2 separate regions of the Homo sapiens genome follow, and region 2 is linked to region 1. Evidence: promoter capture Hi-C in 16 types of primary human blood cells and fetal thymus (Javierre and others, 2016). All regions are on one chromosome and are shown on one strand. The core of a region is centred on a gene start or on the middle of the fragment in contact, and the rest is flanking DNA. Distances in the headings are between cores, read along the strand shown. Region 1 holds the start of CYSTM1 (cysteine rich transmembrane module containing 1). Region 2 overlaps HDAC3 (histone deacetylase 3).

Region 1 (4,688 bases), core at 1,707-4,206:
TGGCAAGGTCTCACACTGTCTTATCTTCCCATCAGAAATTGGATGCCTGACCAAGCCAGGGCACATGCTCCTTCTGTATCCATCAGTCTTGAGTGTACATTAGGCATCCAAGAAACATTCTTTCATCCAGTTGTTCAGAGAACAAATGTGGTCCAATAAAAATACAATGGTTTAAAAAATGGCCCTTTAAAAAATATTACGAATCTGGGTTCTCTTTCTTTGCCCTGGAATTCACCTAAAGTTTATGATAGTCTTGTGAGGTAGGTATTATTATCTCTATTTTACAGATAAGGCAGAGACTCAAAGAAGGTGAGTAACTTGGCCAAGTTCACAAAATGGATAAATCTCAGAACACAGGCTCCCAACGACTGCACCATGTTGCCTCCACAGTCCTTGGACAGTTCTCCCGAATGAACAAATATTGAAAATTCATTGTTACTTCTGTGACTAATGGACTTTCACAGCAAATATGCTTGGCCAGGACCTTGTACCCTGACATTTTTCTTTTATTTCCAGGAATGGAAACCCACACTGCTGTTGTGAAGACACCTGATGAAACTCCAGCAACTTCTACATCTGGCCTGCTGCTTAGTCCTGGGACCTGAGGTCAAAATCTTAGAAAAGAGCCATGTGAGATGCATTCCCTGGCCTCATCTCTGTTCTTGGATGCTGTCAGCAACACTCCTTGAGTTTTTACCCACATAATAACACTTTCCTCAGCATGGATGTGGAGGTGGGGGTGAGGAATGTTCTATTTTTCCTTCGATGGTTACGCCCTCACCCTACCAACTCAGTAAAAGGGGAGTGGTCAGGGAGCGTACTGAGAATGTGTCCTAGCATCTTTTCTTCCCTAGCACAGCCTTCATATGACCCAGCTGCCATGAGAAGCTTGCCTCCCTTCTAAGGGAATTACCCCTGCCTTCCACTCCATCCTCACCTTGCCCTGCCCAGATTAGAGGCACGGAGGCATGTACCACAGGCCTGAAAAACTGTCCAGCCAAAAAGCCTGACTGCCTTGAGTACTATCAGGGTGTAGTTATGGACGTGCCTGTTTCTGCTCTTCCCTCTGCATTAGTGCTCTGCAAAGGGTGGCTCTTACCCTCAGATGGTCCAGAGGTAGTTTGGGGTGTGCATGGATCACCTTCACTCTTCAGAGGCAAACAGACAATGCTGCTCTTCTCCAACAGCCTCTGAAGGACACCACCTACTGACTGGTTCTGAGATGTTTGCTGCCCCAGAGTCTCCCACCTGCTTCTTCCTCCCCCTCAGTCCTTTTTTGTAGCCTCTCAGCCTCCCTTCTCTTAATGCTCTTAGCACCCTTTCCTGGGTCTCTATTTACCCTGCCCTCCCTTTCAGCAACTCCTTCCCAAACCACTGCATACTTCTCCTTTCTTTCCAATCCCTCCTCCCTTCCCAGCACTTTCGCCCTCCATTGAATCCCTCAAGCCTCATTCTGGCCCCACTCCTCCCCTCACCCTCTATCCCTGCCCTCCTCAGATCTGCCAAACACCTCAGGCCTGGCTGCCTCTGTCCTGTTCCTACCAACCTTCTGACCATGCCTCTGTGCTCCTTGGGACCTGGGCTCACATTTTCAATCTCTTCTCTCCTATTAGTACAGCTCTGTCTAGAGCCATGGTTCTTCTCTACCTTTCACAGCTGTCTTCTTTCCCACTTATATGAGTTTCTTTAAGTGTGAAAATTAAAAAGTGCCACTTAAATACAATGATTAAGTCATAATAAACAGTACAAGTTGTACTTATGTGAGACATACCACCCATACACGTTTGATCTTCGAGAACCACATCTCAATCTGCCCATGGCCCATTGCCTGACACTAAAAGATGCTCACAAGAAGTTGACTATAAACTAACTTCTTGGTCTAAGATCCTAAACTCTTGAGAGGGAAGGTTTCAATACATATGAAACCTTCTTGGCAGTGCAGGGATGAGGAGAGTAAAACTGAAATGAAAGTCAGCAAATAGTGAAGGTGTGAAATAGGCAGTGACTCTCACACTGAGACCTCCAGGGGATGTTAAATTTTCATTTCGAAGCTGATAGTCTTATCTGGGAAGCCTAGAGAGTAACAAAAGTTGTAGGCATATACTTATATTAGAGTGGTGCAAAAGTAATTGCTGTTTTTGCCATTTAAAAAAAAAATGCAAAAACCACAATTACTTTTGCACCAACCTAATAGCAAGCAAGGGGAGGAATATGGAGAGAAAATCAATTTCTAAAATGAAAAATAAAAAATTTTTTGCAAGTAGGACTTGCAAGCTCATTCTAGGCCTTGCTCTGGGAGCTTTTCGGTAACTTCTCTTCCTGTTGGAACAGAAGAAGGAAACCTTCAGGACAGAAGATTCTGTCCCCCTTCCCCCTCCTGATGTGAATGAAGTCTCATTACACTCTAAAGTACTGGCGGGACTACTTGTTGCAAGGTTTATGGGGAAAAGTAGCCAGAGAGCAATCCAGTTATCAGCCTCAGCCCCATTCCGCTCAGGTACAGCTCGGGAAGTAAGCCCCCAACCCTAGTTGGGTCTGGACCAACAAGACACGAGGAGGCAGCAGCCCACAGCCGACCCCTCATGCCACGCACTGAGCAGGGTTCCGCATGGACGCTGGTCTTGCCTCCCAGGCGCCTGAACTAGCGGAGTTGGGGTATCGGGTGGAGTCTCGGAGAACCAATCCAATCTGAGGGGGACGCCTGTGGGAGTCCTAAGTATCCAGCGCAGCTGGGAGGCCCACGTTGGGAAGTCGGAGACCGACCCCGCCTCCCGACTGCGCCGACTGCAAGAGAGCGCTTCCGGCGGCGCTTGGAGGCCGAGCAGTTGGGGGCGGGGCTCGTGCTGTGACGCAAGCCTCGCCTCGCCCCGCGCCGCGCGCGTTGCCAGGGTGATCAGGTGACTCCCGGTTCGCGGCGCTGGGAGCGGCCGTGACGTCAGGCGCCCGGCTGCTCCTCACTTGCTCTGAGACAGGTGCGGCAAGTCTACTGCGGGCTGGTCCGGGCTCCTCAGGTTCAGACCCGACCGTTATCCAGTCGGTTCGTGGAGAGGAGAGGTGAGGTGCAGCGGACCTGGCCCGACCCAGCTGGGACCAGGGCGGGGATCAGGCACGGACAGGGCGCGTCCCCGGGCTCCCTGGGGAGCGCCCTGAGAACTGGGGGGCACCCGGGCTGGCCTGGCTCAGGCAGGGGTTCGCGCAGCCCCTGGGGAGGGGCAGGGAGGCAGGGAAGCTGCTGCCGCCAGCTGGATCCCTCCCGGCGCCCCGCGGCTACTCTGGGGCTCCTGGTCGCCGCGCCGCGCGTCTCGGCGGTGGACTCACAGGGTCTCCGCGTCGCTGCGGTTCTCGTCTCACGAGGAGTCGGCGGGCTCGGAGCGGGGCTCGCCACACCCCGTCCCGGGGGACGTCCGCGGGAGGCTTCTGGATTTCTTCGCCTTGGGCTGCGATTTCTGAGGCGCTGCTCTGCCTATTCCGAGCTGGGCCAGCCGGGGGCAGGGGGCAGGTCGCGAGTCCCGCGGGTGGGAGCGGAGCGGAAGTAACTAGTGACTGGAAGTAACTAGGGAACGCAAAGCCGGCGCTCGGAGGCCGGGGTGTTCAGAGAAGGCGTTGCGGGGGAAAGGAATCCCGGCTGCTGTTGAGAGCCGTGGATTGGGATCTGAGCGGACCTGTTGGAGGAAGTGAAATCTGAGCGGGGTCCTGACGGGTGGGAACTAATCTCCCGGTAGCAGTGGAGGTTGCAGGGGGGAGAGAAGGAGGGGAGGACCCCTGGGGAAGGAGACCATGAGGAAAAACGATTTGGGGACTGACTGGACCGTCTGCTGGGCTGTTTTGGGGGAAAAAAAGTTTGGAGAATTAGGTTAGGGAGGATTAGGAAAGGACCCTTGAGTGCCCACCTGAGAGGCACTGTGTGCTGTGGGGAGCCATTGAAACGTTGGCTAGATTGGGGTAGGGGGAACACTGAGGAAGTTGGTGTGAGGGGAACACTGAGGAAGTTGGTGTGACATTCCGGCAAAAAGGTGACAACACTCTTCTCTGATGGGATTCCTCAAACCCTGCTTATGAAATACTTGTAACCGACAAGGGTAGGGGCTCAGGCAGCCAGGTGCCTTTTTCAGCCATTGTTGGCAAATTTTTAGAAATTAAACAAAAAATAATTGTACATATTTATAGATTTATACAATATGATACATGTAAACTTTGTGGAGTAACCATGTTAGCAGATTTTTAAAAATTCCTTTTTATGAAAGGACCCACCCAAGGGCAGCTCATTTTCGAGTATCTCATTTGACGGGATTTAATGACTGGTTGGGAGCTATGCCCCCCTCAGTATGCAGGGAGATTATAGCGTCCACAACACTTTGCCCTTCAGAGGTTTCAGAGTGACTTACAAACACCTTGTATCCCTAGGGTGAAACCCAAACCCCAAATGACTGGTAAGAGATTTAATAGGGGGAAGTTATTAAAGGAGAACCAGCATCCAAACATTCATGTGGGGCATTGGATTCGCTGAAAGGAGTCCCATACTATTTGTTGATTGTAGATCAAAGATCTCTAGACCTGGCCTGGTGCGGTGGCTCACACCTGTAATCCCAGCACTTTGGGAGGCCGAGGCGGACGGATCACGAGGTCAGGAGATCGAGACCATCCTGACTAACACGGTGAAACCCCGTCTCTACTAAAAATATAAAAAA
Region 2 (4,698 bases), core at 896-3,395, 1.5 Mb after region 1:
TCAGTGGGTGGCCTGACAGAGAGGTAGGGCTTAGGAACAGGAAGAGGCCTGAGGCTTCTGCTGGCTGTGACAGGGCTTGGTATTATTATAATGCAGAGACTAGGTCCAGATGCCAGCCTGGAGCTATTGATAAAAAACCCAAAAGGAAGAACTTAAAAACAGGTTTTACCAAACCAAACCAGACAATGAAAAGCAATTTCCAATAGTCCTGGAAGCCCTGAAGCCAGACACTTCCAGATGTTCAGACACTTCCTCACTCAGAAGGGATCGGGGGATATCCTTGGAGGAAGAGAGTTGCAGAGATCCCCAAGAGTCAGAGCAGTAAAGCCCAGGTCCAGAGGAGAGATTCGGAGGCCTGAATTCTAAGACAGAAGCAGATTCTAGAAGGGGCTGAGAAGCCCATCAGGCTCTGCAGCAGAGCCGGCTCAAACCTCTAACCCTGCGTGGGAGCAAGACAGCGTGTCCCACAAGTGTCCAGCTGTGGTTATCCCTCAGTCATGTAAGGAAATCTGTTCCCCATTAAGTGCATCTGTTTCTGCACTTCTTGGTTCTGTTGTCTTTCCCTTTCATTTTTCAGCAAAGTTTTGGGATTAAAAAAAAATTCCATCCTATCCTTTTTCCCCCCTAATTCATTCCATCTACAAATATTTTGTATGTATCTCAGAAAGATAAAGACTTTTAAAAAAAAAAAAAAAACATAACCACAATGCAATTATCCCACCCGAAAAAATTAACAGAGCAAAGAAATCAAAGAGCCTTAGAGAGTATTACGCAGGCAGTGACCTGTCCAGCTCAAGACCTGGAAAGACTGAGAAAAATGCTGGCAAGACTATAGGGTGCTACAGACTTTCTGGACGGCAATTTGGCAGCAAATATAAAAAATTTTAGGCCAGGCTCAGTGGCTCACGCCTATAATCCCAGCACTTTGGAAGGCTGGGGCAGGAGGACATTTGAGCCCAGGAGTTTGAGACCAGCCTGGGCAACAAGGCAAGACTCCGTCTCTACCAAAAAAAAAAAAAAAAAAAAAAAAAAAAAAAAAAATTAGCCAGGTGTCGTGGTGCACACCTATGATTCCAGCTACTCGAGGGGCTGAGGCAGGAGGATCGCTTGAACCCAGGAGTTCAAGATTGCAGTGAGCTATAATCATGCCACTGTACTCCAGCCTGGGTGACAGAATGAGACCCTGTCTCAAAAAAAAAAAAAAAAAAAAAATTAATGCACACAGCCTTTGACCTAGCAGCAACCATTCTACTATCTAACCCACTCAAACAAGAATGCAAAGATGTATAATGTAAGGGGGTTCATTGCCACATTATTATTGTAATACCAAAAAAATGGAAAATAATCTATCCACATAGTAAATTATTATACAGCTGATAAAATACTGAAGCAGATCTATATTAGCTAGCTGAAAACAGCTATATGATGTAAAGCAGCATACGTAGAATGACCCTATTTGTATTTACGAAAAACCAAAAACCACACAAACTGTAAATGAGTGTATATGTGTTTGTTTATATGTACATACAGAATAGTATATTTGCAATCTATAGAAAAAGGTCTATCCAAAACAATAAAAACTATTAACAGTGGTTACTCCTGTGGAATAGGTCTGGGATTGTGTGAACGCCAACACCATATTTTGGTGCTGTTTTAAAATTTTGCAATAAATACGTGTTACTTTTGTCATTAAAAATAACAAAGAAAAGAGTGAGGAAATTGTAGCAGACTAAAGGAGGTAAGCCAGAGGCAATTAAACTAATACCTTCCCATTTACTTTTTCCCTTTTAAACCTCCCCAGCAAGCCTATTGAAAGTAGGCTGAAGTCCCTGCTCCCAGACCTGCTATAGTTCTCCTCAGGACCCCTCTCCTCTGCATCAGCCTCATCAGTCCTGTCATAGGTCAGGAGGTCTGCAGGCACGTCATGAATCTGGACACTAGGTGCATGGTTCAGCATCTTCAGGTTTTCAAAGATTGTCTGGCGGATCTGGTCCAGATACTGGTTGGAAATGAGGAATACAGAGTGAGCAGTTTCCAGAGATTCCCAGGACATGGAATCTCCTAGCTGCCTTTTACCCCTACCATACTGGTTTTCATCTCAGTGGTACCTCTAGTTCAGGTCCCCCAACTGATAGCTCTCCCTCCCCACCAACCCCAACTGCCTCTACTTTAAACTGGACTGCCTCCTAGTCAATAACAGTGACTGTGATGGCTTAGAACTTCCTTCTCTTTGGTTTTTCCTACTTCCCACATCTTTGACCTCTCCTGGGCTCCACCTTTCAGGAGAAGTTTGTGCTCAGCTTTTCTGAGCTGCTGACCTGGCGTGAGTTCTGATTCTCGATGCGGGTGCTGACATCTGGATGAAGTGTGAAGTCTGGGGCAAAGTACTCGAAGTATTCTTGGGGAGGAGAGGAGAAAGTATGGCTCAGACTGAGAAAGGCAGCTAACAAGACTTCCCAATCTTTTTCCTTCCCATCCAGAGCACCTACATAATAGCTGCCCAATCTCTTCCCTGCTCTGAGCCCAGGGGTTTAGTCTGCAGAGCTCTGAGAGTGTAAAATTTCCCATGTGCCTTCAAACCAGGTCATTCTGGAATCTGGTGAGAATGGCCTTCCTGTTATGGGGGTGTTGTGGGGTGGTCCTTACCACTATAGGGAAGCTCCTCACTAATGGCCTCTTCTACCAGCAGCGATGTCTCATATGTCCTGAAACCAACCAGCAGAGGGGAGCAGGCTGACCAAGTGGGCTGAAGGACCCATGTGGCCATATCTGAGGGACACCCTAGCTCACACTGGACAACAGGGGAGGAAATCAGGAGAGTGCTCACCAGCAGCGGGCAACATTTCGGACAGTATAACCACCACCACCCAGCACGAGTAGAGGGATATTGAAGCTCTTGACATATTCAACGCATTCCCTGTTAAAAGGAACCAGAGGAAGATGTGGAGGAGGTTATCAAAAGACAAGGTAAATACCTTTAGGTATTGCCTGAAAGGAGCACAAGAAAACTATAAATGTTCTAAATCTTTATCTTGATAGTGAAATTCATTATGTTATACCCTTAAGATTTGGGTATACTTTATATGCTGTGTCTCAATAAAAATTTTAAAATAAAGCACAGTCCCCCCTCTGTTCTGCTCAACACCCTCCCTGGCACCCTGCCTGCTAATCAACTATTCTCATCAACCCAAGTTCTGTCAATTCTAGCCTTGAAAATATAACTCACGCCCGGCGCGGTGCTCACGCCTTTGTAGTAGTCCCAGCTACTCAGGAGGCTGAGGCAGGAGAAATGCTTGAACCCAGGAGGCAGAGCTTGCACTGAGCCAAGATCGTGCCACTGCACTCCAGCCTGGGTGACAGAGCAAGACTCCATCTCAAAAAAGAAAAAAAAAAACATATATATGTGTGTGTGTGTGTGTATATATATATATATACACACACACACACACACACCTCTCAGATCATCTACTTCTCTCCATTGCCACCCCCTCCACCTTAGTCTGGGCACCTAACCAACACCATGGCTTCCTAACTGGTCTTTCTACTTCCATCTCCATCCCCCCTACCCAAACCTTTCTCTATTCAGCAGTCAGAATTGTCACTTTCAAACACAAATTGGATCATGTCACTTTCCTGCTTAAAATCCTTCAATGGTTTCCCATCATCTTTGGAATATAATTCAAACTCCTTACCAGGGTTTAAAGGCTCTGCACAATCTCACCATGGCCAGCTTCTCGGACCTCACCTCAACAGACTGAAGTCCAGTGGCACAATCATAGTTCACTGTAACCTCAAACTCCTAGGCTCAAGTGATCCTCCTGCCTCAGCTTCCTGAGTAGCTAGGACTATAGGCATGCACCATCATGCCCAGCTGATTTTGTTTTTTATTTTCTGTAGAGATGGCTCTCACTATGTTGCCCAGGCTGGCCTCAAACTCCTAGCCTCAGGCGATTCTCCCACCTTGGCCTCTGGAAGTGTTGGGATTATAGGTGTGTGCCACTGGGCCCAGCCCTCAGAGCCTTTTGTGGGCCTTTGTCCATGCTTGGGTCAGGCTTCTCTCTGCTCCTCTTATGACTCACTCCTTCTTAGTCTCCAGGTCTCAACTCAAATTTTACTTCCTCAGAAAAACTTTCCGAAACCATGCTATCTCAAGTAGGTCCCCCATTGTATCCTGTGTCTCAGCTTTCTTTTTTTCTTTCACAGAATTTATAAGAATCTATTTATTTCATTTGATTATTTATTTTTTGTCTGTTTCCTAAACTGTAAACTCCATGGGAGACTCCTTATTCCATCCCCATGATGTGGTATGATGCCTGGAACATAACAGGTGCTTAATAAAAATATATCGTGAATGAATGACCATCTAGGGAACCCTGTTCAAGATGACATTTCTAGTTCAAGTACAATTTGTAGCTATTTTTGATTTCCAAGAAGAGGTGAGGCCCATTCCCCAACTACCCCCACCCACGTACTGAAGTCCAAGGCCACTTAAAAACCTTGGGGAGAAGAAGGAGAGCAAGTCTCACCCATGCCCTCGGATGCTGAGGTTAAAGCAGCCCAATCGATCACAGCCCAGAGAGTCAGCTCCACACTGCAAAAAGCAAAACCCCAGGAAAGTGCAGTGATCAGAACTGATCAGAACATCACAGATACCCCTTCCACCACCAACCTAAAGAACCTCCTCTTCCCTTGCTCTCT

Evidence for each region. Contacts are between HindIII fragments. The CHiCAGO score rates a contact against its expected background, and 5 or more counts as called.
Region 2: a contact is called between a fragment that was not itself captured here and the fragment with the promoter of CYSTM1 in region 1, in 1 of 17 cell types (neutrophils). The highest score is 5.2, in neutrophils.

What each region holds. Positions count from the first base shown.
Region 1 is chr5:140,172,232-140,176,919 of GRCh38, forward strand. It overlaps CYSTM1 (cysteine rich transmembrane module containing 1), which reads left to right and starts at 2,957. Exons shown (of 3, transcript NM_032412.4): 1 at 2,957-3,054. RefSeq lists an enhancer at 2,535-2,764 and a silencer at 3,055-3,344. The HindIII fragment of the contact is 7,638 bases long and covers 887-4,688 here.
Region 2 is chr5:141,623,367-141,628,064 of GRCh38, forward strand. It overlaps HDAC3 (histone deacetylase 3), which reads right to left. Exons shown (of 15, transcript NM_003883.4): 10 at 4,527-4,591; 11 at 2,828-2,917; 12 at 2,647-2,705; 13 at 2,319-2,398; 14 at 1,842-1,999. Among named protein-coding and RNA genes, the nearest start is that of DIAPH1, 6.7 kb to the left of the region's middle. The HindIII fragment of the contact is 7,461 bases long and covers 1-4,698 here.